Regions from separate parts of the Homo sapiens genome. Here all the other regions are linked to region 3. Evidence: promoter capture Hi-C in 16 types of primary human blood cells and fetal thymus (Javierre and others, 2016). All regions are on one chromosome and are shown on one strand. The core of a region is centred on a gene start or on the middle of the fragment in contact, and the rest is flanking DNA. Distances in the headings are between cores, read along the strand shown.

Region 1 (2,700 bases), core at 131-2,630, 1.3 Mb before region 3:
CTGGCTGGTCTCAAACTCCTGGGCTCAAACGATCCTCCCTGGGCCTCTCCGAGTGCTGGGACACCCCGCCCTGCTAAGTTTAAAACTTTTTCTTAGAGACGGGGTCTTGCTATGTTGCCCTGGCTGGTCTCAAACTCCTGAGCTCAGGCGATCCTCCCTGGGCCTCTCAAAGTGCGGGGACACCCCGCCTGCTAAGTTTTAAAAATTTTCTTAGAGATGGGGTCTTGCTATGTTGTCCTGGCTGGTCTCAAACTCCCGGGACACGCCACCCTGTACTAGGTTTAAAAAATTATCTTAGAGATGCGGTCTTGCTCTGTTGCCCAGGCTGGTCTCAAACTCCTGAGCTCACGCGATCCTCTCCGGGCCTCTCAATGCACTGGGACGTCCTGCTTCGTTAAGTTAAAATAATTTTTTTTGAGGTGAGGTCTTGCTGTGTGGCCCCGGCTGCTCTCAAACTCCTGGCCTCAAGCAATACTCCCCGGGCCTCTCAAAAGCGCTGGGATCGCGGGCGTGACCTGTCCTTGCAGCCAAGCCTATTCATTCCCATCACCGAGCTGTCACTCGGAGTACAACGTTAGCAAGGACGTCCTGGCGGCAATGTTCCTAGGCATCATGCTACTTTCTATAAGCCTCTCCCAAAAGACAAAAAATGCATTGCTCTGGATCAGAATTGCACAAATGAGCTAAGAAGGGGGTAAGAACCACCAATAACCATATCCTGGTTATTCCAGGACACCTGCGGGCAGGCTCGTTGCCCTATTGGCCTTAGAATTACCCTTCACGGTGGAGGGAGCAAGAGCAGACACCTGCCAGGCATCCACCGGAAGGGTTGGTCCCAGCCGGGGGACCCGCAGGATTGAGCTCAAGGTCAAGGCCCGCCAGCCGCAGGGTCCGTCCATGGGCCCTGCTCAGCGCGCATGCGCCCTCCAATCCGTGCCGCATTTCCCCCCGCCCGCCGGGCCCAGTGCGCACGCGTGGACGTCGCCACGCCCTGCAGCAGCGGTCACGTGACGCGGCCCCCGGAAGCCGGCGGCGCGTGGACAAAGCGATCGCGGCCTTCCACTTCCGGCGCCCGCCTGCAAGGCTCTGCTGCCCACGTCCCCGCCCGACCCGGCCACTCGGTTCCCGTCCCCTAGTCCCCGGAGCGGCCGCGCCCGCGTCCCCACCTGCAGCAGCAGCTTGACCCGCTCGATCGGAGCCACGGCCGTCTTGGAGATGGCGGCGGCGATGCCTCCGGCCAAGAAGTCTTTGGCGAAGGAGATGGCCTGTTCCGTCATGGTGGCAGGGCGGGCAGCGGAACGGGAGGACAGCCGGAGAACGGGCGCGGAGAGTGAATGGAGGGCGTCGCTGGCTCAGCCCTGCCGCCGCCTGGACCGAAAGGACGGAGCAGCCACCGCGCAGCCGCTAAGACGCCGACGCCACGCCCACTCTCCGCCCCCGCGCCTCCTCGCGCCGCGCTCATTGGCTGCGCCGCCAGGCCCCGCCCCACACCAGCCTGCGTGCCTCGCCTCTGAGGGCTGCCGGGAATCCCGCTGCGTCCCGCCCCGCACTCCAGCGAACCGCGCCCATTGGCTGCGCTCCCCGGAGACGTCCCGCCCCGCACCCCTAGGTATGCCGGGAGCCAGGCCCCGCCCATGCGCCGTAGGGGCCGCTGGGGGTTCCGCGGCAGCCTTGACCTTGTGAAGGTCAGGCCGCTGCCAGTACCCGAGCGGGCGGGAGGGCAGCTGCGGAGTCAGAAGCCCACCCTGATGCCCAGTTCGCTCCGAGTGCGTCGTCCGCTTTCTCCCGGAGGCCGCGGCGACCCCGCCGGGATGTGCGACATGTGGTGCCCCGACCCCCGACCCTTGACCCTTGACCTCCGGGCAGCTCCGACCCTTTCAACACTCTCCGGGGTCGTGCGTCGGGAGACCCCGGCCCCTGCCCGCGTGCACCCGGGGGGCCCCGCGCGAAGCCTGCGGCGGCTTCCACGTGGGCGCGGCTCAGTCCCGCTGCCGATCCGTGACTCCGCGCCGCCCTCCGCGCCCGGCCTAGGTTGGTGGGGGGGGGATCTCTCTGGGCCTCCGTTCTTTGACCCCGCGGTGCCCTCCGCGCCGGGGCTGGGGGTTCCGTGGGCCGCGCCCACCCGCCCGGGCTCCCCTATTTCCCCGTGTCTGTGCCCGTGTCTGCCCGGCGGGGGCTGCGGCCGGGGTCCTCCTTCGCGACCTCCCACTCCGCCCTTCCTCCCTCCCTCCCTCCCTCCCTCCCGCCTCCCTCCTCCCTCCCTCCCGCCTCCCTCCTCCCTCCTCCCGCCTCCTCTCCCTTCCCGGCTCTCTCCCGCCCGCCCTTTTCTCCCCGTCTCTTCCTTCCCTGCTTGCCTTTGCTTTTTGCTGCTTTCCCGCCTCCCTCCTTTTTCTCCGTCTTTCCGTCTCTGCCTTCGTTTCCCTCCCTCCCTTTTTCTTTCATTTCTCTCTCCCTTTCTCCTTCCTTTCTTGCTACGTTTCTTCCCTCTTTTTCATTTTTTTCCTTCCTTTTTCTGCTTTTCTCCCTCCGCCCTTCCTCTGTTTTTTCTTTGCTCCCTCCCTCTTTTTTCTCCCTCTTTCCGTCTCTCCTTCCCTTTTCCTCTTTCCTTCCCTTCCTCCCTTTTCTGCCTTTCCCTCCTTCCCTCTCTTTTCCTTTTCCTCTTTATTTCCTGTCTCCCTTCCTCTCGTCCCTTTCTCCCCT
Region 2 (2,700 bases), core at 50-2,549, 1.2 Mb before region 3:
TTTCGGGTCACTCTCCCCACCCCCATCCCTAGGGGGGTCCCGGGTCACTTGACCTCCCCATTCCTAGGGGTCCCGGGTTACTCTCCTCTCCCCCATCCCTAGGGGTCCCGGGTTACTCTCCCCACCCCCATCCCTAGGGGGGTCTCGGCTTACTCTCCCTATCCCCAACCCTGGAGGTCCCGGGTTACTCTCCCCATCCCCATGCCTGGGGGTCCCGGGTTACTCTCCCCATCCCCATCCATGGGGCTCCGGGGTCACTCTGCTGTCCCCATCCCTAGCGGTCCTGGGTCACTCCTCCCTCCCCATCCCTAGGGGGTCCCGGGTCACTCTCCCCAACCACATGCCTAGGGCGTCCTGGGTTACTCTCCCCACCCCCATCGCTAGGGGGTCCCAGGTTACAGGTTACTCTCTCCAACCCCATCCCTAAGGTGTCCCGGGTTTCTCTCCCCTCCCCCACCCCTAGGGGGGTCCCGGGTTACTCTCCCCTCCCCCATCCCTAGGGGGTCCTGGGTCACTCTCCCCAACCCCATCCCTAGGGGTCCCGGGTTATTCTCCCCAACCCCATTCCTGGGGGTCTCGGCTTACTCTCCCCATCCCCATGCCTGGGGGTCCCGGGTTACTCTCCTCTCCCCCATCCCTAGGGGTCCCGGGTTACTCCCCCACCCCCATCCCTAGGGGGGGTCTCGGCTTACTCTCCCCATCCCCAACCCTGGAGGTCCCGGGTTACTCTCCCCATCCCCATGCCTGGGGGTCCCGGGTTACTCTCCTCATCCCCATCCATGGGGCTCCGGGGTCACTCTGCTGTCCCCATCCCTAGCGGTCCTGGGTCACTCTACCCTCCCCATTCCTAGGGGTCCCGGGTTACGATCCCCTCCCCCATCCCTATGGGGACCCAGGTCACTCCCCACCCCCATGCCTAGGGGGTTCCGGGTTACTCTCCCCTCCCCCATCCCTAGAGGTTCCGGGTCACTCTCCCCAACCCTATCCCTGGAGGTCCCGGGACACTCTCCCCTCCCCCATCCCTAAGGGTCTCGGGTCACTCTCCCATCCCTATCCCTAGAGTTCCTGAGTCGCTGGGCCCTCCGGGGTTCAGCCCCTCCGTCCCCGGTCCCCTGCCCCGCCCAGGCCCAGGCCGTACCGCGTTGCTGAGGATCTCCTGACGGCGTGGGGAGGCGCTGGCCAGCACCACGCGCTTGTGCAGCAGCTTCCCAATCACCGGGCACAGCACCATGGCGTCCACGCCGGGAGCCGGGCGTCCGCACTTCTGAGCCCGGAGCCCGCGGTGCGCGCAGCGCGGCTGCAAAAAAAACAGGCGGCCAGAGTCCCGCCTCCGCGAGGCCACGCCCCCGCCCGCCTCCGCGAGGCCACGCCCAGTCCGCGCCTTCAGTGGCCTCCCCGCGAGACCGCGCCCAGGCCACGCCTCCATTGAACACTCCGTCAGGCCTCGCCCAGGCCACACCTCCATTGCCCTCTCCACCAGGCCACGCCCATGTCACGCCCCATTGATCTCCCCTGAGACCACGCCCAGACCACGCCTCCATTGCCCTCTCCGTCAGGCCACGCCCAGGCCACACCTCCATTGCCCTCTCCGCCAGGCCACGCCCATGTCACGCCGCCATTGACCGCTCCGCCAGGCCACGCCCAGGCCACACCTCCTTGCCCTCTCCGCCAGGCCACGCCCATGCCACGCCGCCATTGAGCTCCCCGTGAGGCCACGCCCAGGCCACACCCCCGCCCGCCTCCCCCCCGGGCACCGCCCCGGCCGCTTGGTGAAGCACCGCCCCCAGCTCCGCCTCCCGGGCCCCGTCCCCGCCCCCGGCGCTCGCCCCGCCCCTCCCCACCCCGCCTGCGGCGCCAAGACCTGCAATGGCGCAGGCAGCTGCGGGGTCCCGGGGAGGAAAGGCTGGCGTGGATACTTGGGGTTCCTTGCAGGCGCGGCGTGGGGAGTGGAAATGCTGGGTTTCCGCAGCTGCGGTTGTGGGCAGTTGTGGGGGTGGGGGGTTCTTACCCGCACGTGGAGGGGCCCGGCGCAGAGATGGGGGTCTTGTGGGAGCCGCGTCGGGGAAGGTAGAGATAGGGGGTTCCCCGCGGACCCGGTGCGAGTGGCGTGGGGATGGGGATGTCCTCGTGCCTGGTGGGAGGGGAGTGGAGATGGGGGTGTCCACGGGCCTGGTGGGAGGGGCGTGGAGATGGGGGTGTCCACGGGCCTGGTGGGAGGGGCGTGGAGATGGGGGTGTCCACGGGCCTGGTGGGAGGGGCGTGGAGATGGGGGTGTCCACGGGCCTGGTGGGAGGGGCGTGGAGATGGGGGTGTCCACGGGCCTGGTGGGAGGGGCGTGGAGATGGGGGTGTCCACGGGCCTGGTGGGAGGGGCGTGGAGATGGGGATCCCCGCGGGGATGGTGGGAGGGGTTTGGAGATGAGGGTCCCCGCGAGAATGCTCGGAGGGGTATGGATATGGGGGTCCCCGCGGGCCGGGTGGGAAGGGCGGGGAGATGGGTGGGGGGGGGGTCCCCGCGTGCCTGGTGGGAGGGGCGTGGAGAAGGTGGGGGTCCTTGTGGGAGGGGCGTGGACACTGGGGATCCGCGCGGGCGTGGTGATGGGCGCGGCGTGGGGACCCCCTGGGGGCGCGGTGCTGGGGGCGCAGGGATGGGACCAGGGCGGGCGCTGTGAGGTGGGGGACGCCCGGCTGTGCCTTCCCT
Region 3 (2,700 bases), core at 132-2,631:
CTGGTCTCCAATTCCTGACCTCAGGTGATCCACCCGCCTCGGTCTCCCAAAGCGCTGGGATTCCAGGCGTGAGCCACCGCGCCCGGCCTAGTTTGACTCTTTTCGTGGACAGTTTGAAGTGTGGAATGCAAGAATATTCAGGGTTATTTGTCAGGCTGCAAAGTTGTTCCACTACCCTGCGGGAAAATGGATACAATTTTAGGCTTAGGTGTTAACAGATAACATTGTTAAGTGTGGGAAGGGCGACAACTGCACTGCAGCTGTGGCCAGTGGCGCGGGAGGGTGTCTAAACTCAAAGCCCACTGGAAGGCGAGTCGCCCATGACCAGGACTAGGGCCCAGGTGCCCCAGATAGAAGGCACCTCGTTCCCTATTGCCCCTCACTAACTCCCGTGACCAGGAGTCCCCACTCCCAACCTTGTCCTGGGGATTCTGGGGAGAAACTGCCCCAGCGCAGAGGCTACTCCAAGGGTTGTCCTTGGTCCGGCGCAAAGGGTTCGTCCGCCACCCTCCCGGCTGCGCACCCCGCGCTCGGACGCTCTAGAAAGGACTTGGGACGGGGGTTGCCTGTGGAGCGGGGGCCTAGGCTTCCTGAGCAGGGAGAGGATTGCACTTTGCTCCCCTTGGGGAACTCCCTGAGGTGAGCAGCGGGGAGGGGCCCCCATACTTTTCCCAGCAGGGGAGCCGGGAGTTTCCTCTGCTCCCACTGCAGAGCAGGGGAGGGTCCCTGCTAGGGGCGGAGAAGGGGCTGCAGGGGCGAGTGGGGAGGGGGGCTACACGTTTCCAAGAAGGGCGGCAGTTTCGTGTCGCTACAGTTGCAGGCGTGCATTTAGGAGGCTGTAGACAGGGAGGGACCCGCACTTTCCCGAGCAGGGGAGCTGCTGGGAAAGTTTGTTTTTTTGCTCCCACTGGAGACCAGGGGGTGAGGGGCGGAGAAGTGGCTGCAGGGGCGAGTGGGGAGAGGGGGCTCTATGTTTCCAAGAAGGGCGGCAGTTTTGTGCCACTACAGTTAAGGGCCGCCCTCGGGCGTGCATTCAGAGGGCTGTAAACCGGGAGGGACCCGCACTTTCCCGAGAACGTTGTAGTTCACTTTGCTTCGGGTCGGCGCCGCCCTGGCTACGGCCCTGTGGGTGGGTGAGGGGGCGTGGGCAGTTTCCTGAGAAGGGGCGGGGCGTGTACCGTACTCCCCTCGGCGCTGCCTGGGCCACCCCCGCCCGCCTACCCCCTCTGTCTCCTCCCCGGGCCCGGCGTTCCCGCCCCTTCTGTGCGCGCGTGGAGGCCGGGGCGGGGCGGGCGCAGCCGGCGCTGAGCTTGCAGGGCCGCTCCCCTCACCCGCCCCCTTCGAGTCCCCGGGCTTCGCCCCACCCGGCCCGTGGGGGAGTATCTGTCCTGCCGCCTTCGCCCACGCCCTGCACTCCGGGACCGTCCCTGCGCGCTCTGGGCGCACCATGGCCCGCGGGGCTGCGCTGGCGCTGCTGCTCTTCGGCCTGCTGGGTGTTCTGGTCGCCGCCCCGGGTGAGCGAGCGGAGGGATCCGGGTTGGGGGACGCGGAGGGCGCGGGCCGGGACTGGGGATCCGCTTGAGATGCGGCGTTGGGGGCGCCCCGCGGGGACACCCGGAGCCTCCTCCCTGCCCGGCAGGACGCGCTGTGCCCACGGGGGCCCAGGCCCGGAGGAGGCGCCCACTTTCTCCCCAACGCTTTTCCTGGAGCCGTTCCAGAGAGAAAAGTCAGCGTTTGTTGTCGGAGTTGCAAACTCTTACATGTGGGGCGGCCTTGGGAGAGGTGCGTCCGATTTTTCCCAATCTAGGGGACCTTCTTACAGATCTCTCTCCCTTTGCATGAGCCCCTCACCCCACCCCGTTATCTACCCCCAGGGTTTGGGGACCTGCGTCTTCAGGCCGCGCGCGGAGGCCGCCCTGGAGTTGCCTGTCACAGCCACGCCCTGCGTCCCGGGCCTAAATTTGGAATCGCTAGGAGCCTGAGACCCGGGTGGTGGGGGGAAGGGAAGGAAAAGTTAGAAAAAAACTTTGAGCCCTGAAAATGTTCAAAAATACTCTGTGGATGCGGGCTCCGGGAATTTCAGCGCGTGCTGTGCGCCAAGCAACACGGGGCGCAGAAAGAAACGTGTGCTTACCAAATTGTCCATCTGCGGCGGTGGAGAATTCGGAAAACAGAAAAAGTGGGCAGGGAAGAAAGAGCCACGGTCACCCTCCCACGCCCTAAACCGGGCCTATTTCTAATTATTACTTTAATCATGTTTTTCTGTTTCCCTCCCTTTGAAACGGAAACGGAGACCCTGCCGGATGTGGTATGTTATAAATTCTTTTTTCATGTTATAAATTCTTTTTTCAATGGTCAGTGCATTTTTTGCTCTTCGTATGGGCAGGCTTTTAAGTAGACCGGCTTGCGGGCAGTGTGGACTTCAGGACGGGCCTTATCAGGGCTGGACGTATTTAGGAAGGAGACGCGGGAACGCCCGGCCCTGGGGAGGACGGAGGAGGCCCGATTTGTGTTGATAGGATCTAGCTCAGCCTAGAGCTGCGGTGACTAGGCCGGGTCTCTATTTTTAGGGAGGAGTTGCTAATGGATTTACACCCTCTTTAAAGGGGTCCCGGGTATCCTAGAAATTGTGCTTTCACTTGGTAGAGATTAGAGATAATGAAGCCTGCTCCGTAGAGGAAAACTTGGAGGACTTTCCAG
Region 4 (2,700 bases), core at 156-2,655, 1.4 Mb before region 3:
TGGTGGATCACGCCTGTAGTCCCAGCATTTTGGGAGGCCGAGGCGGGTGGATCACGAGGTCAGGAGTTCGAGACCATCCTGGCCAACATGGTGAAACCCCGTCTCTACTAAAAATACAAAAATTGGCCAGGCATGGTGATGCACGCCAGTAATCCCAGCTACTCAGGAGGCTGAGGCAAGAGAATGGCGTGAACCCGGGAGGCAGAGATTGCAGTGAGCAGAGGTCGCGCCACCTGCACTCAGGCCTGGTGACAGAGGAAGACTCCCTCTCAAAATAATAATGATAAACAAAGTGCTGGGATTACAGGCTTGAGCCACCACTCCCGGCCTGGGGCTGTAGTTTTCCATTTCTTTGTTCCAAAGGCCGGAGTCACCAGCTTATCTTAATTTGCCTTGTGGTCTACCTGCCAACCTTCCCACCACCCCACACAGGAAAACTCATTGAGTCTGCTTCAGCAGACAACACCCTGAGACTTTTCCCACTGGTGCCTTTACTTATTACAACGCCGAGCTGCTTCAGAGGCAGAACAGGCTTATCTGAGTCCTCAGACTTCTCTCCTTCCCAACAGCATCAACATTTTCCAGGAAAATCACGACTTGTGAATTTATTATTTTTATTTTATTTTATTTATTTTTTGAGATAGAATTTCACTCTTGTTGCCCAGGCTGGAGTGCAATGGCATGATCTCAGCTCACTGCAACGGCCACCTCCCAGGTTCAATCGATTCTCCTGCCTCAGCCTCCCGAGTAGCTGGGATTACAGCCAACTGCCACCACACCCAGCTATTTTTTTTGTATTTTTGTTAGAGATGGGGTTTCACCATGATGACCAGGCTGCTCTCGAACTCCTGACCTCAAGTGATCTGCCTGCCTCGGCCTCCCAGACTGCTGGGATTACAGGTGTGAGCCACTGCGCACGGCCCATGTGTAGATTTATTAAATGCCCCTGTTCGGCCTCCCAAAGTGCTGGGATTATAGGTGTGAGCCACCTCGCCCAACCCACCATCTAAAGTCTGTCTCTGAGCTTTACCTCATACCACCCCCCCTCCTGGTACCCATCCCTGCCCCTGAGAAAAGGGAGGTGAAGGAGACCAGGAACCACAGTTTTCAGCTAAGAGGAAACTCAGGTCAGAAAGTCCCTGCCTGGCCCACATCCCTCATTCTAAAGAGAGAACTGGGGCTTCCCAGCAAGGAACAAGGAGATGGCACAGACAAGGCTATGTCTGTTCAAACAGTGACATTCTCTGGGCCATGTGTCCATCAAGCAAAAGATATCACCATCCCCAGGTTCACAGACCAGGACAGGCACCTACAGGAAGCCGCTTACAGGTGCTGGGATGTATCTCAGAGCTCGGTCCTTTGAACACATCCCTCCGGGCCACGTTCTGGCGTTAGTACTGGAGGTTAAAGATTCACGGGACCATTGTTTCTGGAAAGGCAGGGAAGTATAAATAAACAAATGCTCAATGTCATCTGAAGGTGACGTACGAGGGAAGCGGAGAACTGAGAACTGGAGGCGGAGGGTTTCCAGTCATGGCAGAAGGCAAAGAACTGGGGCTTCCCAGCAAGGAACAAGCAGATGGCACAGACAAGGCCATGTCTGTAAAAGCAGTGACATTCTCTGGGCCATGTGTCCATCAAGCAAAAGATATCACCATCCCCATGTTCACAGACCAGGACAGGCACCTACAGGAAGCCGCTTACAGGTGCTGGGATGAATCTCAGAGCTCGGTCCTTTGAACACATCCCTCCAGGCCACGTTCTGGCCTTAGTACTGGAGGTTAAAGATTCACGGGACCATTGTTTCTGGAAAGGCAGGGAAGTATAAATAAACAAATGCTCAATATCATCTGAAGGTGACGTATGAGGGAAGCAGAGAACGGAGAACTGGAGGCGGAGGGTTTCCAGTCATGGCAGAAGGCAAAGAACTGGGGCTTCCCAGCAAGGAACAAGCAGATGGCACAGACAAGGCTATGTCTGTAAAAGCAGTGACATTCTCTGGGCCATGTGTCCATCAAGCAAAAGATATCACCATCCCCAGGTTCACAGACCAGGACAGGCACCTACAGGAAGCCGCTTACAGGTGCTGGGATGAATCTCAGAGCTCAGTCCTTTGAACACATTCCTCAGGGCCACGTTCTGGCCTTAGTACTGGAGGTTAAAGATTCACAGGACCATTGTTTCTGGAAAGGCAGGGAAGTATAAATAAACAAATGCTCAATGTCATCTGAAGGTGACATACGAGGAAAGTGGAGAACTGAGAACTGGAGGCGGAGGGTTTCCAGTCATGGTGCAAGGCAAAGGGGTAGAAGGAATTACATGGTGAGAAAGGAAGCGAGAGAGAAGCCAGGGTCTTTTTTATTTTTTTGAGACGGAGTCTCACTCTGTTGCCCAGGCTGGAGTGCAGTGGCGCGATCTTGGCTCACTGCAACCTCCGCCTCCCAGGTTCAAGCGATTCTCCTGCCTCAGCCTACTGAGTAGCTGGGACTACAGGCGCCTGCCACAGCGTCTGGCTAATTTTTTTTTTGTATTTTTGGTACAGACGGGGTTTCACCATGTTAGCCAGGATGGTCTCAATCTCCTGACCTCGTGATCCGCCCACCTCGGCCTCCCAAAGTGCTGGGATTACAGGCGTGAGCCACTGCGCCTGGCTTTTTTCTTTTTTTGAGACAGTCTCACTCTGTCACCAGGCTGCAGTGC
Region 5 (2,700 bases), core at 110-2,609, 1.2 Mb before region 3:
AACCAGGCTGGTCTTGAATTCCTGACCTCAGGTGAGCCACCAGCCCCGGCCTCCTAAAGTGCTGGGATGACAGTCGTGAGCCACTGCACCTGGCCAGGTTGGACCCTTTTTCTTATGCTTTGCAGGTAAATGCACACCTGTCTGGCAGCAATGCATCCAGCAATGTTTCTCTCCTCTTGAGGGTCTGTGTGTATCTCCTCCAGCCCTCTCACTTATTTCTTCTTAAAACAGCTTTGCCAGCCGGGCACGGTGGCTCACACCTGTAATCCCAGCACTTTGGAAGGCCGAGGTGGGCAGATCACGAGGTCAGGAGATCAAGACCATCCTGGCTAACACGGTGAAACCCCATCTCTACTAAAAAAACAAAAAAACAAAAAAATTAGCCGGGCGTGGTGGCATGGTGGCGAGTCCCAGCTACTCGGGAGGCTGAGGCAGGAGAATGGCCTGAACCCGGGAGGCGGAGCTTGCAGTGAGCCGAGATCGCACCACTGTACTCCATCCAGCCTGGGCAACAGAGCGAGACTCTGTCTCAAAACAAAACAAAACCAACAAACAAAAAAACAGCTTTACCAAGACGTGAGTTACGTACCATAAGCTTTCACTCATTCATACAGTTCAATGGTTTTTAATATATTCACAGATGTGCAAACAACACCATAATGCAATTCCAGAACCATTTTTATCCCTAAACAAAACTCAGGACCTGGCCGGGCATCATGGCTCACACCTGTAATTCCAGCACTTTGGGAGGCCGAGGCAGGTGGATCACCTGAGGTCAGGAGTTCGAGACCAGCCTGGCCAACATGGTGAAATCCTGTTGTTACTAAAATTAAACAAACAAACAAACAAAAACAAATGGGCCAGGCGCGGTGACTCACGTCTGTAATCCCATCACTTTGGGAGGCCGAGGCAGGTGGATCACCTGAGGTCAGGAGTTCAAGACCAGCCTTCCCAACATGGTGAAACCCTGTCTCTACTAAAAATACAAAAAAAATTAACCGGGTGTTGTGGCACATGCCTGTAATCCCAGCTACTCCAGAGGCTAAGGCAGGAGAATCGCTTGAACCTGGGTAGGGGGCAGAGGTTGCAGTGAGCCGAGATCACACCATTGCACTCCAGCCTGGGCAACAAAAGCAAAACTCCATCTCAAAACAAAACAAAAACCCTTCAGAACCCCACAACTGCTAATCCTGTTCGTTCCTGTCCCCAGCCCCTGTGAACCTCAAATCTGCTTCCTGTCTCTGTGGATCTGCCTATTCTAGATATTTTATAAGAATAAAATTCTACAATATGTGGTCTTTTGTGTCTAGCTTCTGTCACTGAGCCAGGGGTCTTCAAAGTTCATCCACGCTGCAGCCTGGGTCAGAGCTTGAGTCCTTTCAGTGGGTGCATAATAGTCTACTGTGTGGATAGACCACATTCTGTTTATTCATTCTCCTGTGGATGGACATTTTTGTTCTTTCTGATTTTTTTTTTTTTTTTTGAGATGGAGTCTTGCTCTGTTGCCCAGGCTGGAGTGTAGTGGTGCGATCTTGGCTCAGTGCAACCTCCGCCTCCTGGGTTCAAGCAATTCTCCTGCCTCAGCCTCCCAAGTAGCTGGGGCTACAGGAACCTGCCACCACGCCTGGCTAATTTTTTTGTAATTTTTTTTTTGAGAGGGAGTTTCGCTCTTTTTGCCCAGGCTGGAGTGCAATGGTGTGATCTCGGCTCTCGGCAACCTCCGCTTCCCCGGTTCAAGCAATTTTCCTGCCTCAGCCTCTGGAGTAGCTGGGACTACAGGCATGCATCACCGCACCCAGCTAATTTTTGTATTTTTAGTAGAGACAGGGTTTCACCATGTTGGCCAGGCTGGTTGTGAACTGCTGACCTCAGGTGATCCACCCTCCTCAGTCTCCCAAAGTGCTGGGACTACAGACGTGAGCCACCGCGCCCAGCCCATTTTTTTTTTTTTTTTTTTTTTGTAATTTTAGTAACGACGGGGTTTCATCATGTTGGCCAGGCTGGTCTCAAACTCCTGACCTCTGATGTATGATCCACCCTCCTCGGCCTCCCAAAGTGCTGGGATTACAGGCACGAGCCATCACACCCAGCCCATTTTTTTTTTTTAATAATTTTAGTAGCGACAAGCTTTCATCATGTTGGCCAGGCTGGTCTCAAACTCCTGACCTCCCATGATCTGCCCGCCTCGGCCTCCCAAAGTGCTGGGATGACAGGTGTGAGCCACCGCGCCTGGCGTGTTCCTGATTCTTGGCTATTGTGCATAAAGCTGCTCTTCCCTCATTCCCAGCCCTGGGAACCCCTTTCTAAAGGGTTCAGATGCTGAGTGCAGTGATCACTACAGTCTTGTTCCGGGTGGACCTTACAGGGTTGGGATGAGAAATAGACAAAAGGCATCTCCTCGTGGGCAGCAGGGATTGCATGCCGGTGACAGACCCTTTTTTGCCAGCTATTGTCTTCTGGCTATAACCACCCCTCTTTCCTGAGTGCTGGGGGCTGTCCCAGCTGTTGAACACACAGGGGAGTGAGAGGCCCCAGCCCTAAGGAACCACAAGCCAGCCCCGTGCTTGTCGTCTGCTCTCCTTTCTGTTTTCTGGGGGTGTTTGCACCACCCAGTTTGTGGTTCTTTTGATAGGGCTGCCTCAGGAGGCCCTCAACCCCAAAGACAGCAAATGGCACTCTGTTGGAGCTGTGGATTTGGAA
Region 6 (2,700 bases), core at 156-2,655, 1.5 Mb before region 3:
GCCTTGTTGACAGAGCGAGACTCTGTCTCAAAAAAAAAAAAAAAATATGACATGCTAACTTTCTAAGCCCGGAATTCTTGCTCTCTGCTAAATGATGAGACTCGTGGATGAGTGTGCAGTTGTGTGGTCAGTGTTCTGTGATATACTCTGCACCCAAGCTGGGCTGGACATCCAGAGACTTCATAGTTCATCTGTCTTCAGACAAACGCAGAGTTCACCTTTGCCGCTGACCAGCTTCCCAGACCAAGGGACTCAAGCTTGTAGGCATTCTCCTCGTAACACCACAAACACTGTGATGGTAGCATATGCTGGGTAGATGGGGCCCCAGTTTAAGACTGTAGAGGACCGGGCACGGTGGCTCACGCCTGTCATCCCAGCACTCTGGGAGGCCGAGGCCGGAGGATCCCCTGAGGTCAGGAGTTCGAGACCAGCCTGGCCAACACGGTGAAACCCCGTCTCTGCTAAAAATACAAAAATTAGCCGGGCGTGGTGGTGGGTGCCTGTTATCCCAACTACTCAGGAAGCTGAGGCAGGAGAATGGCGTGAACCCGGGAGGCGGAGTTGGCAGTGAGCTGAGATCGTGCCACGGCACTCCAGCCTGGGCGACAAGAGCAAGACTCCGTCTCAAAATATATAAATAAATAAATAAGTGAATAAATAAAAGTCTGGAGAGAGCTGGTTGGAACAGACATGTCATCTTAAAAGATCTCGGCTCATGCCTGGAGATTCCTTGCGGTCAAAACACAAGTGTGCCAGGCAGAGCAGGTGATTCCTGTTGGTTGCCACCACTCCTTCGTACAAGCAAAGCAGAAGTGATTGTGGGAACTGTTTAGAGATGCGGTTTGGGGACTTTCAGAGCACAAATGCAGGATCTTTCTCCAGTACGTGACGGAAGAATTTTAGGTGTTCTTTTGCTTGACAGCAGGAAGATTGGATTAACCGTGAGTGACCAGTTTGAGACCACTAACATTTGTTTTATGTTTTTTTGAGGTGGAGAGTCTCCCTCTGTCACCCAGGCTGGAGTGCAATGGTGCAATCTCAGCTCACTGCAACTTCTGCCTCTTGGGTTCAAGCAACAGGCACCTGCCACCACACCTGGCTGATTTTTTGTTTTTCTGTTTTTGAGGGGTTATTTTTTGAGACGGAGTTTCTCTTGCTGCCCAGGCTGGAGTGCAATGGTGCAATCTCAGCTCACTGCAACTTCTGCCTCTCTGGTTCAAGCAGTTCTCCTGCCTCAGCCTGCCGAGTAGCTGGGATTACAGGCACCTGCCACCACACCTGGCTCCTTTTTTGTTTTTCTGTTTTTTTGTTTTTTGTTTTTTTGAGACGGAGTCTTGCTCTGTCGCCCAGGCTGGAGTGCAGTGGTGTGATCTCTGCTCACTGCAAGCTCCACCTTCAGGGTTCACGCCATTCTCCTGCCTCAGCCTCCCGAGTAGCTGGGACTACGGGTGCCCACCACCACGCCCGGCTTATTTTTGTATTTTCAGTAGAGACAGGGTTTCACCATATTAGCCAGGATGGTCTCGATCTCCTGACCTCGTGATCCGCCAGCCTCAGCCTCCCAAAATGCTGGGATGATGGGCATGAGCCACCGCGCCCCGCCCAATGCTTTCATTATTGAGAGCTCTGAGCTCCATGGTTCGTCATGGAAGAGATAAAATAATCCAAATAATGACACAGTGTGAAAGGTTAGATGACAACGTTGACCAGAATACCATGTCTCACGGAACCCTGTAGAGAGTAGGGGACAAGAAGGAAGTGTGAGCCTCAAGAACCATCTCCTGCCGGGCTCATTGGTTCATGCCTGTCATCCCAGCACTTTGTGAGGCCGAGGCGGGAGGATCACCTGAGGTCAGGAGTTCAAGACCAGCCTGGCCAACATGGAGAAACTCCGTCTCTACTAAAAATACAAAAATTAGCCAGGCGTGGTGGCAGGTGCCTGTAATCCCAGCACTTTGGGAGGCTGAGGCGGGAGGATCATCTGACTTCTGGAGTTAGAGACCAACATGGTGAAACCCTGTCTCCACTAAAAATAGAAAAATTAGCCAGGCGTGGTGGCATGCACCTGTTATCCCAGCTGCTCGGGAGGGTGAGGCAGGAGAATCGCTGGAACCCGGGAGGCGGAGGTTGCAGTGAGCCGAGATGGCACCACTGCATTCCAGCCTGGTGACAGGGCAAGACTCTGTCTCAAAAAAAAAAAAAAAAAAAAAAAAGCATCTCTGCCCAGGACCCTCCACAACTTCTGCTTCTACAGATGACAGAAATGGCTTCATTCAATACTCACTCAAGATACATTTGTTGAGGGTCTGTTATCTCCCAGGCACTGGGGAGGTGACAATAATATCACCTAGCTCAGAGAGACAAAGTGATAATATACATAAAACATTGAGCATTGTTCTGAATTCAGCCCCCAATCAACGTCCACTGTTACTACTGGACAGTAGATACTGTCGCATGCAAAGTAGGCAAGTCTGCAGAGAGAGAGAAAGGAGGTTGGCCTACAAACAGACAGGACTCCCTGCCCTCGTGAAGAATGCGTTCTGTAGGACGAGACGAAGCTTAAATAAGTACGTATGCTCTGGACATGGTCATGGTGAGCGCTGGGAAAAGGGGAAGTGGCCGGGCGCGGTGGCTCATGCCTGTAATCCCAATACTTTGGGAGGACGAGGCGGGTGGATCACCTGAGGCCAAGAGTTCAAG
Region 7 (2,700 bases), core at 171-2,670, 1.7 Mb before region 3:
AGAAAGAGAAAGAAAGAGAAGGAAGGAAAGAGGAAGGAAAAGGAAGGAAGGAAGGAAATATTTTTGTAGACGCAGTGATATGGTTTTGCTGTGTCCCCACCCAAATCTCAAATTGCAGCTCCCAAAATTCCCACGTGTCATGGGACTTACCCAGTGGGAGGTAACTGAATCACAGGGCAGGTCTTTCCCTTGCTGTTCACACAATAGTGAAGACGTCTCATGAGATCAGATGGTTTTATAAAGGGGACTTTCCCCTTTTCTCTTGCTTGCCACCATGGAAGACATGACTTTGCTCCTCCTTTGCCTTCCGCCATGATTGCGAGGTCTCCTCAGCCATGTGGAACTGTGAGTCCGTTAAACCTCTTTCCTTTATCTTTTACCCAGTCTCGGGCTGGGCGCGGTGACTCATGCCTGTCATCCCAGCACTTTGAGAGGCCGAGGCAGGAGGATCACCTGAGGTCGGGAGTTCAAGACCAGCCTGCCCAACGTGGAGAAACCCTGTCTGTACTAAAAATACAAAACTAGCAGGGCGTGCTGGCACGTGCCTGTAATCCCAGCTACTCGGGAGGCTGAGGCAGGAGAATCGCTTGAACCCGGGAGGCGGAGGTTGCAGTGAGCCGAGATGGCACCATTGCACTCCAGCCTGGGTGACAAGAGCAAAACTCCATCTCAATCAATCAATCAATCAATCAATAACCCAGTCTCAGGTATGTCTTTATTAGCAGCCTGAGAACAGAGTTATATACACAGAGTCTTGCTATGTTGCCCAGTCTGGTCTCGAACTTCTGGGGTAAGTGATGCTCCCACCTCAACCTCTCAAAGTGGTGGGATTACAGGCGTGAGCCGCCGCGCCCGGCCTCCATGAGTCTGATTTTAACCCATGTCTTTTGTATTTCTCAGTCCTTGTCCACACATCTCATCACACACGTGCGCAGCAAACAGGCACACCCAGTGTGAACCCAGGCACAGCTCTCCGAGAGAACTCTAGTCAACACGTCGTCCGTGGGACATCGGCTGTATTTCTGTTCCTTTCCTTCTTTTCTGTCTCTTTCTCTTATTTCCCAAAACTCCGTTGTGTTTCTGATTTGTTCACATCGCTTTCGGCAAAAGGAAAACACAATGGTAAGTGGGGTTTATAAATCTATCTTCGTTATCAAGGGAAGATTGAAACGGCATGGAGACAAATGAAATTAACTGTGCACGGGACACACCGTCAACAAAACGCTAATAAGTGCAGAAAGACTGTTTAGCAGGAAACATGTCCAAAAAAAAAAAAGAAAAGAAAGGATCTTAATCATGGTTTAAGCTTATCTGATGGATTTCAACAGAGACACATCAAGTCTAATTGAATGTTTACGTGCACTTTTTATGGTTTCTGTATTCTGTGTAATGAAATAACATTACAAAAAAGCGTTGAGACGCAAGAAACTCTGGGATTCTTCTAAAGGGAGAGTTGGAGTTACTACATTCAACATGGACGGCTTCTCTTCTGTATTTCAACAGCGTTATCGTCTGCAAATTTGGAGATTCTCTGAAAGCTTCACGGCCATCCTGGGTCTCAAACTCTTTGAATATTCATACTGTAAACTATCTGACAACATGGGATTGGGTTTTGGCATTCTCTAGGTCTACTGAGAGAGGTTCTGGAATGCAATTTAACTTTAAATGCCTACCTACCTACCTGCCTATCATCTATCTATCTGTCTAACATCTATCTGTCTTTCAATCATCTATCCATTCGTCTCATCTATCTACCTACCTATCTATTCATCCATCTCATCTATCCATCCATCCATCCATTCATCCTGCCATCTATCCATCTATGTATCTATCTATCTAGTCATCCATCTCATCTGTCTTCCTATCCATGTATCATCTATCTACTTACCTATTAACTATCATCTATCAATCAAGCTATCTATATATCCATCATCTATCTACCTTATCTATTATCAATCTATCGTGTGTCCATCTATGTACTATCACCTGTCAATCTGTCATCTACCATCTGTTTATCTACCCATCTCATCATCTATCAACTACCCATCCATCTTTATCTATCTATCTATGTATCTATCTATCTATCTTTTTTTTTTTTTTTTTGAGACAGAGTGTCACTCTGTCGCCCAGGCTGGAGTGCAATGGCGCAATCTCGGCTCACTGCAAGCTCCGCCTCCCAGGTTCACGCCATTCTCCTGCCTCAGCCTCCCGAGTAGCTGGGACTACAGGCGCCCGCCACCATGCCCGGCTAATTTTTTGTATTTTTAGTAGAGATGGGGTTTCACCGTGGTCTCGATCTCCTGACCTCGTGATCCGCCCGCCTCGGCCTCCCAAAGTGCTGGGATTACAGGCGTGAGCCACCGTGCCTGGCCCTATCTATCTATCTATCTATCTATCTATCTATCTATCTATCTATCATCTATCCATCCATCACATCTCTTTATCTACCCATTCATCTTATTTATTTGTCTATTTATGTATAATCGGTCTATCCATTTCATCTATCTATCTATATACCAACCTATCATCTATCTATCCATTCATCTATGTATATCTATCTATCCATCTATGTGTCTATCTACGTATCTATTATCTATCTATCCACTATCACTAATCTATCATCTATATATCCACCTATATCATCTATCATCTCTCGAGTCATGTCATGTATCATCCATCTATGTATCTATGTATGTATGT

What was found. Contacts are between HindIII fragments. The CHiCAGO score rates a contact against its expected background, and 5 or more counts as called.
Region 1: a contact is called between the fragment with the promoter of SLC25A6 here and the fragment with the promoter of CD99 in region 3, in 4 of 17 cell types (naive B cells, naive CD8 T cells, total CD8 T cells and 1 more). The highest score is 6.3, in naive B cells.
Region 2: a contact is called between the fragment with the promoter of ASMTL here and the fragment with the promoter of CD99 in region 3, in 1 of 17 cell types (non-activated CD4 T cells). The highest score is 5.4, in non-activated CD4 T cells.
Region 4: a contact is called between a fragment that was not itself captured here and the fragment with the promoter of CD99 in region 3, in 8 of 17 cell types (non-activated CD4 T cells, naive CD8 T cells, activated CD4 T cells and 5 more). The highest score is 11.8, in non-activated CD4 T cells.
Region 5: a contact is called between a fragment that was not itself captured here and the fragment with the promoter of CD99 in region 3, in 4 of 17 cell types (fetal thymus, activated CD4 T cells, non-activated CD4 T cells and 1 more). The highest score is 15.6, in fetal thymus.
Region 6: a contact is called between a fragment that was not itself captured here and the fragment with the promoter of CD99 in region 3, in 2 of 17 cell types (total B cells and activated CD4 T cells). The highest score is 5.1, in total B cells.
Region 7: a contact is called between a fragment that was not itself captured here and the fragment with the promoter of CD99 in region 3, in 1 of 17 cell types (total CD4 T cells). The highest score is 5.9, in total CD4 T cells.

The regions. Positions count from the first base shown.
Region 1 is chrX:1,390,733-1,393,432 of GRCh38, forward strand. It overlaps SLC25A6 (solute carrier family 25 member 6), which reads right to left and starts at 1,381. Exons shown (of 4, transcript NM_001636.4): 1 at 1,167-1,381. The coding sequence starts at 1,277. LOC124900597 (serine/arginine repetitive matrix protein 1-like) reads left to right here and starts at 1,276. Exons shown (of 5, transcript XM_011546186.2): 1 at 1,276-1,499; 2 at 1,610-2,031. The coding sequence starts at 1,276. RefSeq lists enhancers at 645-1,240, 1,241-1,835, 1,279-1,881. The HindIII fragment of the contact is 29,130 bases long and covers 1-2,700 here.
Region 2 is chrX:1,451,610-1,454,309 of GRCh38, forward strand. It overlaps ASMTL (acetylserotonin O-methyltransferase like), which reads right to left and starts at 1,300. Exons shown (of 13, transcript NM_004192.4): 1 at 1,139-1,300. The coding sequence starts at 1,231. The HindIII fragment of the contact is 27,509 bases long and covers 1-2,700 here.
Region 3 is chrX:2,689,914-2,692,613 of GRCh38, forward strand. CD99 (CD99 molecule (Xg blood group)) reads left to right here and starts at 1,382. Exons shown (of 10, transcript NM_002414.5): 1 at 1,382-1,514. The coding sequence starts at 1,448. The HindIII fragment of the contact is 9,076 bases long and covers 1-2,700 here.
Region 4 is chrX:1,251,907-1,254,606 of GRCh38, forward strand. No RefSeq gene overlaps it. Among named protein-coding and RNA genes, the nearest start is that of CSF2RA, 16 kb to the right of the region's middle. The HindIII fragment of the contact is 8,598 bases long and covers 1-2,700 here.
Region 5 is chrX:1,469,372-1,472,071 of GRCh38, forward strand. The region is part of intron 1 of P2RY8 (P2Y receptor family member 8); the gene reads right to left. Among named protein-coding and RNA genes, the nearest start is that of ASMTL, 18 kb to the left of the region's middle. The HindIII fragment of the contact is 1,532 bases long and covers 594-2,125 here.
Region 6 is chrX:1,214,511-1,217,210 of GRCh38, forward strand. No RefSeq gene overlaps it. Among named protein-coding and RNA genes, the nearest start is that of CRLF2, 3.2 kb to the left of the region's middle. The HindIII fragment of the contact is 2,301 bases long and covers 256-2,556 here.
Region 7 is chrX:993,085-995,784 of GRCh38, forward strand. No RefSeq gene overlaps it. Among named protein-coding and RNA genes, the nearest start is that of CRLF2, 220 kb to the right of the region's middle. The HindIII fragment of the contact is 232 bases long and covers 1,305-1,536 here.